Linked DNA regions of Homo sapiens: region 2 is linked to region 1. Evidence: promoter capture Hi-C in 16 types of primary human blood cells and fetal thymus (Javierre and others, 2016). All regions are on one chromosome and are shown on one strand. The core of a region is centred on a gene start or on the middle of the fragment in contact, and the rest is flanking DNA. Distances in the headings are between cores, read along the strand shown. Region 1 holds the start of B3GALT2 (beta-1,3-galactosyltransferase 2). Region 2 overlaps CFH (complement factor H).

The links. The method cuts DNA at HindIII sites, captures the fragments that hold promoters and counts their contacts. A CHiCAGO score of 5 or more calls a contact.
Region 2: a fragment that was not itself captured here is called in contact with the fragment with the promoter of B3GALT2 in region 1 in 2 of 17 cell types (M2 macrophages and M1 macrophages); the score reaches 10.4 in M2 macrophages.

Annotation. Positions count from the first base shown.
Region 1 is chr1:193,183,808-193,188,165 of GRCh38, forward strand. It overlaps B3GALT2 (beta-1,3-galactosyltransferase 2), which reads right to left and starts at 2,806. Exons shown (of 2, transcript NM_003783.3): 1 at 2,212-2,806. All of the region lies in intron 10 of CDC73 (cell division cycle 73), which reads left to right. The HindIII fragment of the contact is 388 bases long and covers 2,527-2,914 here.
Region 2 is chr1:196,655,423-196,659,830 of GRCh38, forward strand. The region is part of intron 1 of CFH (complement factor H); the gene reads left to right. Among named protein-coding and RNA genes, the nearest start is that of CFH, 5.6 kb to the left of the region's middle. The HindIII fragment of the contact is 2,518 bases long and covers 972-3,489 here.

The sequences.
Region 1 (4,358 bases), core at 1,556-4,055:
GCTGATATGATAATACTTGGAATCTGGTTGAAGTCCAATTATACAGATTTTTTTTAAAGTGTAAATTTGATGGTGTAAGAAGGAGTAAACAATAAGGTCAGATGTTTGAATGGATGTTTGAGTTAAAGGACTGAGTAAATAAATGATGGAAAATAATCATAATTTATGTTGCTTTTATAAGAACAATATACCTGAAGATGTCTCTAAAGTATTTTAGTATTACAGAAAACAGCAAATTATTGCATATTGTAATGTAGCATAAATACATAGTTTTGGTCCTAATATGATTTTGTAACAGTATGTGATAGAGATGCATCTTAATTTAGACTTCATGGTATTTGTATGTTTTAGATGTTAAGCTGTTGAGATATTAAATCCATATATAACTATAAATCTCCCATTGATAAATGAAGTGCATGTGTCTAGCCTTTAAAAAATTCCTTATTAAAAGATTCTCAGGTCTTATAAATTTTTTTGTTAAAAAGAATATAAAATTAAAATAACCATGCCTGCTTTTTATTAAATGATAAAATTATTCTCCAGTTATTGCCTGTTGTATTTTAATTCTTAAAAAGAGAGAGCAAAACAAGAAAGTTCAGTAGTATGCAAAATAGTTCTGCACTTTTACATTTTTAGAAGAGAAATAGCTTTGGTTTATCTCTTCTTTTTTGATATCTTCACATTATTAATGTGTATTTATAGCTTGTGGATGAAGTTCATGGGGAGAATGTTACTGTAAAATGCTGTTCAGTACACACTCAGTTTTTATCATTTGGCTTTTAAAAGTGTTGATCTCTTTAGTCTGTTGGTGATGGTTTAATAGAAAAACTTACACTTTTGTTTTGAGATGTATAGCTTATAAAACTGCTTAATTGGTGACTTCAATATTGAGAGATTAAGGTACCAAGAGGGACTTGAAATTTTTACAACCATATTTTTTAGTACTATTTATTATTAGTCTTTATTAGAATAAAAATTCATGGGTGAGAGTGATGTTGAGGTGTAATAGAGTCTGGTAAACTTGTTTAATCTTCATTTTGGAATGCAGTACTTACATATTTTTAAAAAATGTTTGCCTTTTGTGATTATTAGATAATTACTGAGTTGTGTTGTGAAATTGAGGAAAAATCAGGATCTTTGATAGATTTGTAGAATTTTAGAAATATCTTTAAGTTCTTGAGCCCTGAGTTGCTGTTCTATGATTGTTGCTAAAATAGTTTATTTGGTTTATCTGTGCCCTGCACACACATATAGTGGCGGTAGTTCATTACTGCATATTAATATAGCCTGGAAGCATAGTAGCTACATTTATATTTAATTTTTTGACCTTGTATTGCCATTTGTGGATATTTTTGTATCAAAGTATTTCCATATTATGTTTTTGAATTTCACTTCTGAAATGATAATCAGAGACAACGTTAAATTTGATCATTTGGAATCAGTCTTTTACATAAAATGTAAGCTATTTAAAATAGTTAATTTTTAAAGCCACTATTGATGTCCCTTTGTTTAAAGTTCTATTCATGGTCACTATAATAACACGAGGCTCTATTGTGGGGTTATGCATAAACTCACACTACCTTATGTGATCTTATGTTAATGCTTTCCTTTTAGTATCTTCTTGTAGCTTGGTAATATTTAAAATTTGTTGATACTCTCTTTGGTTGTGTTCATTATCTTCATTTAGGGAGATGTTGGGGAAGATTTTGTTACTAAAAGCTGTTACATATTAAGGTTTTGTTTTAAAAGGACTTTGAAAAAAAAACTCTTAAGGTTTTCCTTGCTACTATTTAATGAAATTTCACTGCATTGTGTCTTTTGATAGCCATTTTTAAGAGAGCATTTAATTTACTAGATAAGGATTCAGTTTGACCTAATTTGATAGAATATTGCTGTGTTTTTTGTAAAGGGCTACAGATTTTTTTTTAAGTTTAATTTCTTAAGGAATCCTTTAAACACATCTTCTTCTTATTTGCCTTTTCCCTCTGATGTCTATTACCCAGAATTACTCCAAGCTACATATTTAGCTGCATAAAGCAGTGACAGCTTGTCTTCTAAACAATGACAAATTTTAAAATCAGATATTAAGAAACCTTTTCATAGTTTCAAGGGCAGTGAGCTGTATGAACTTGCTTATCAGGTATTAGTGCCTCCAGGGCTATAAAAAGGTAACACATTTAAATGACTATCATACACAAGATATTGACATACCTTCCTTGGTCAGGCCATTTATGTGAAGAGGATTATGCCCACTGAAAATACTTTTGGCACGCCATCACTTCAGCAAAAAAGATGCTATCGAACATGCGCACATCCCCCAACAGTCTGCCTCCTGCGATTGCTTTTCACAGTATCCAAAGTGTCCATCTGTCTGCTTGTCTTCGAGTTACCCTCCTTGTTCATATGGGTCCTAGTCTTCTGAAATTTTCCCTTTCTTTCATTTTCTCTCTTTCGTTAAACAAAAGAGCTGTAGTTGCCCGTTCTGCTTGTAGCACTGTTGACTCTTCCCGACAGTTGATGCATTGAAGCTTTTTACATCTGCTATTTTCCTGGCTGGACAATGCAGTGCTGTGTTCTCGTCTCAGTATCCATATTTCTACTAATAACACTGAGCTGCAATGTAAAGCAGCCAGAGCTAAAATGTAGTGCTTCAGTTGTATTGGAAAAGAATAGGATTTACCTCTCTTCTTTCGTTGTTGCCTGGCAGCTGCAGGAAGGATTTTGAGCAGTTTTAATGGGGTTTTAGTCTATAATATGAAATCCACGGTTCCTCAGCTGCTGCACAGGCAGGCAGCAGTTTAAATGTGGGCTTGACAGATGCTCTCTCTGACAGAGCAGAATTTAACGTCACTGCTTGGCTGAATCCCACGTGATTGTTTGCATTCATTTTGACTAAAAACCTAAGGTAGGGAGAAGCTTAGAGATTTTGCTTTTATGTGATAAATTATATATGTTGAATGCAAGTGTAGTGATGAGTGAATAATTTGAAAATGTGATGATTATGAAATGGTTATGATTTTATTTTTTCCAGCTTACTTCCTTTTTTAACTTTATTCTTAAGTACAGGCTTTCTAAGTGTTTTCTGTGTTAGATGTTGGTTTTCATGTTTCTTACATGCTTTTGTAGGGTGTAAGCAGTATAAGCTTTTGTGTGTAAGTTGGTGTAATTTAACCCCTTCAGTGCATTCTCTTCTTGAAGTTTTTTTTCTCTGCTTTCAAATTGCTCTTGATTTTTTACTAATATGTAGTTAAGACCTATGGTTTCTATTGAAACCATGTATCTTTGTAATTTAGATCCCCCCCCCCGTTTTCTGGGGTTTGTATAAATAAGCTGTCTTGGATTACTTTACTAATGCATGATGTGATACAGCCCACTTCTTTTTTGCTCTTATGTGGTTTTTGGTGTTCTTGATGGCAGAAAACTTTATTTTAAATCACTTTTTAATGTTGTCATTTATTTTTTATTTATTTTTCCTTCCCTTTAAAATTACATGTATCGTAGAATTCAGTAAAATGATGTAATAGATATAGCACACTTGTACAGGATCTGGGGGTAATGAGATTTTACTAATTATGTTTACTTATTCTAATGTTTCAGAAAGATTTAATAACTTGCCATGAGGCAGATTTTATTAACACTACACACTCACTGAGATTTTTCTAATATGGTTAGTTTCTGGGGCTGGCACCTTCTTTTCTTACTGCAGAGCAGTAGGGAAGGTTTTTTTAAATTTTTTGTTGTAGTAAAAAGCCTTTATTATCAGTTTTTCCTCTGTGACTCTAGGGACAGTAATTCAGTCCTAGAAAGTTATAGTTTTGGAGCTTAAGCTAAAGGTTAACAGTTATATACATATTCTTCATCTCACTGCCTCCACCATTAATATATGCTATTTCAAATGAATATGAATTTGTTTTCTCTGATATTAAAAAAAATTTTGTCCACATATTTTTGAGCTTTGCTGATGAAATGTGCTTTGTAGTTTTAAGAACCCCACTGTATTAGAAATGTTAGAAGGATCGTTAAAGAAAAAAAAGAATTTTATAAATAGGAAACCTAAAGCCTAGACTGAGCTTTGACTTTTCCTAGTTAAGTTTGAAGGAGAGGACTAAAACCCAACTTCCTTGTAGTCTATATCCACCCATACTGCAATTCTCACTCACTACCGTTTTGTTTTTAAAATTAGTTTACTAGTTAACAGAGTAATGCTTAAGAACTTACTTAAAATAACTTATTTTCCAGAAGTACAGATGTGTTTTTGTAGATCAGTATTTATTTATCAGTGATTCTTTACATAGGATTTGACTATGAAGCTAGCCACAATGACCATTTATGGAGTATTTACTGAAAATCAGATTGCG
Region 2 (4,408 bases), core at 981-3,480, 3.5 Mb after region 1:
GCCTACATATAATTTAAACTAAAAATGAAATATCTAAGTATTGCTAACTAAAATTATTCTTAGGTAGAAGTAAGTTCCCAAATATAAGTTCAAAAGCAGATTGGTAAATGTTCTTCATGTGTGGCCTTTGGTTTCTAAGATCTGAGCCAGTCTACATTGACCCACTTTTATTTGCTTAATCCTCGATTGTTTATTCTGCAGTCTTTTGCCACTTTTCATTCTTCCCAGTTATGCCTTCTCCTCCTCCCCACACACACCATCCCCCACCTGCCTAGGCCTTTGAGATTCTGCCACCCAATCTATCCCGTGCTCAGTTAACTAACGTGTACTTTACCCATTTCTTCACAAAACCATAGTACATGGAAAGGGGATGATGTAATTGACAAAAAAGTATTGCATTTTAGCTTAAAATTATAAGGAGTCATAAAAAGATAGCTCAGAGGAAATAAAGTAACTGAACATCAAAAAATGAAACAATAAAAAGGAAAGAAAAAACATTTGACAGAACACTTTTATTTCTTCTGACATTTTAACTTAGCCAAGTTTTTCATAAACCTTGTTAACTGGAAATGTAATAGATAGAAAAGTGATTATTCTTCCAGGCCGGGCATGGTGGCTCACACCTGTAATCCCAACACTTTGGGAGGCCCAGGTGGGTGGATCACCATGTCAGGAGTTCGAGACCAGCCTGACCAAAATGGTGAAACCCCATCTCTACTAAAAATACAAAAATTAGCCAGGCGTGGTGGCGCGTGCCTGTAATCTCAGCTACTCAGGAGGCTGAGGCAGGAGAATTGCTTGAATCAGGGAGGCGGAGGTTGCAGTGAGCTGAGATCATGCCATTGCCCTTCAGCTTGGGCGACAGAGGGAGATTCCATCTCAAAAAGAAAAAAAAAAAAAAGAAAGAAAGAAAGAAAGAAAAGGAAAAAGCAATATTCTTTCAGAAACTCCTGAACTGTAACATAAATTTAAGCTTAGGACACATAGGTCAGATGTACAATGGAATTACAAATGTTAGAGTTTCCTGGGTTCTTGCAACAGAGTTTTAAGTGCACTAAACAGTTATCACCTTGTCTTCTCTTATATTTTCTAGTCACTACTGTCTACTACGCTTTTTCCACAGGCTGTCCATAATCTACAGATATAATGGAAAGGCTTCCAGATAGTTTCATTGTTACTCATCTGTTCTTTCGCTCATTCATTTTTCCATCACTTTAACTTCCACAAGTACTACTTAGTAATACTTGGTACAATGTGTGTTGCGTTTTTTTTTTTTTTTCTCTATTTTCAGGGTCCTAATTGTACTGTCTCTTTGTGGCTGAGTTCGTTTTTTGTGACTGGAACAATAACTGGCATTAGAAATTAGCTATTCAAATACACATTTCAAGAAAGTTGTGGAATTTCAACCCATGTTCTGATAGTATCTTGTTTTATCTCTAATTATGACATACTTGTTATTCTATCCAACTTCATGTGACTATCGTCTATTCTCCTATCTGCTTTTTATGGTTCTGGAATTTTCTTCTTGCTCTTTTCACTGTTAAGTTGTTTGTTTGTTTGTTTGTTTGTTTTGAGACAGGATCTCGCTTTGTTGCCTGAGGCTGGAGTGCCCACGCTGGAGTGCAGTGGTGCGATCATAGTTCACTGCAGCTTCCAACACCTGGGCTCAAGCAATCCTCCTGCCTCAGCCTCCCACACCTAGCTAAATTTTTTTCTTTTCTTTTTTCTTTTTCTTTCTCAAATGCCTATTAAGTGTGACATAATCTCTATTCTGCTTTGTCTCTAGAGTTTGTTTCTTTAAACAATTCTTTACTCTGTTTACAAAGGTATATATGTTACTTCTGAAATGATCTTTATTCTCATGTTATTTATAAAATAATTTGAATATTTCTTATTTTGAAAAGCTAATTAGATCATATCGTATATATGCATATAGAATTGACCCTTGACCAATATGTGCTTGAACTTCAGGGGTCTGCTTACTATGTGAATTTGTTTCAACTAAACCTGGGTCAAAAATACAGTATTGGTGGGTTGCAAAACTTAAGCATAGGAAAAACTGACTTTTCGTACATGCGGTTTCCAGAGAGCCAAATGTAGAATTTAAGTATGTGCAGATTTTGGCCTGTGTGGGAGTCCTGGAATATATATCCCCTGTGTATACCAAAGCCAAAGGATTATTGAATAAATAGTATTACTATAGATCAGTGAGAAGATAAGAAAGAAATTTAATGCAAAATACCTATTTTTGCTATTTCTGTTTTGTTCATTTGCTTTATTTTTTTCCAAATTGATTTTGTAACTTTGCTTTATAATATATTCTGATACCTACTAAGTTTAGAAGTAGGCTATTTAAAAAATAATATCTACTGTTTTTTATGCACAAAATAATTTTAGAAAAATAGAATAATTGAACAAAGAGACCAACTTTAGTCTACCAAAACAATCTAGCACAAATTTGATTAAGGATTTCCCAAATATATAATTTTATCATGATTTATTTCATTTGAATAAAAACACTTTTCAACTAACAGTTAAAAGATATATTGACATTGAAAATAAGTAATTAGTTCTATGTTTGTATGTCAATAATAAGTAATTAGCTTGGTGTTTGTATGTCAATAATGCCCCCTTAAAATTTGAAAGTGAAAAAATTAGGTAAATTAAGATTATTAAAATATTAAGTAATATTGATTTTTAGCTTTGACCAAAATTATATAACTATTTTCCTCAAATTATAGTAAAAACATTCCTACTCTTTACCAGTAGTTAAACGTATTCACACTCTTAATTCATGGGCTAAAAAAAAACTTGATTTTGTTTAGTATTATTCTTACTTTTTTGAGACAGGGAATCACTTTGTCACCCAGGCTGCAGCGTACTGGTGCAATCATGGCTCACTGCAGCCTCGACCTCCTGGGCTCAAGCAGTCCTCCCACCTAAGCATCCCAAGTAGCAGGGATTACAGCCACCTTGCTCAGGTAATTTTTTTTTTTTTTTTTTTTTTGAGATGGAGTCTTGCTCTGTCGCCCAGGCTGGAGTGCAGTGTCGCTATCTCGGCTCACTGCAAGCTCCGCCTCCCGGGTTCACGCCATTCTCCTGCCTCAGCCTCCCGAGTAGCTGGGACTACAGGCACCCACCACCAAGCCCGGCTATTTTTTTGTATTTGTAGTAGAGACGGAGTTTCACCGTGTTAGTGTTAGTCAGGATGGTCTGGATCTCCTGACCTCGTGATCTGGTGATCTGCCGGCCTTGGCCTCCCAAAGTGCTGGGATTACAGGCATGAGCCACCGCGCCCGGCCTGCTCAGGTAATTTTTAAAATTTTTTGTAGAGACAGGGTTTCACCACGTTGCCCAGGCTGGTCTTGAACTCCTGGGGTCTATTGATCCTCTTGACTTGGCATGTCAAAGTGCTGGGATTATAAGCATGACCCACTGCATCCAGACTAAAACTAATTTTAAATTGTAAAATAAAGCCAAATGAATTAAAGCTTCACCAATGTAGTGTTTTGTAAACAAAATTAACTGGCAATTAAATGACTTGTAAACGTAAGATGAAGTATTCATTGTTTAAACTCAAATACTTAGATATGATGGCTTAGTCTACTCATTAATCTAGAATGAGAAAAATGAGATGGCTATTTCTTTTAGTTTTAAGATAAATCACATCTCAAAAAAATGTTTCTGTGCCTTTCAATTTGTATGCATCCTATTTAATAAGCCCGTTGTACATACATGCTGAGAGTTTGACTACTTGGGCCAAAATAACCGTTTGTTGTCTACTTGAAGGTGGTTCAACTGAGCTTGAACATTCGATTGTTAGTCAATTCAGGCAAATAAAAGTTATGTCACAAGATATACCTAATTATTATTAGAACTCAGTGCAGTGAATCATTACCTTAAATACTTTTGCTATGGCATGAGTTGATAATGATGTAGGACAGCAAGCCCCCAAATTGGGTCTTAGCCTGGGAAGGTTCTTGGTTTTGTCCAGTAAAGAATTCAAGGGTGAGCCTGTGGTGTTAAACAGCAATTTTTGTTGAAGTGGCAGTGTATAGCAGCCTCAGAGGCACCTCTCCTTGCTAAGCAGGGCTACCCATAGGCAGTGTGCCCACAGTAGCAGCTCAGAGGCAGTTCTGCACTCATATTTATATGCACTTTTAATTATATGGAAATTAAGAGGTAGTTAATGCTGAAATTGCCAGGAGGAGGATGGTAACTTCCGGTTGTTGGGTCATTGCTGTGGAAAGGGCCTGTAACTTCTGGGTGTTGCCATGGTAATGGTAAACTGTCATAGCACACTGGTCTGTGTGTCTTACAGGGAGGGGCTTCCACTCAGACCTGTTTTGGATAATCCTCAATTTGGTCCAGTGTCCAAGTCCCATCTCCTATCTCAATAATACTCAAT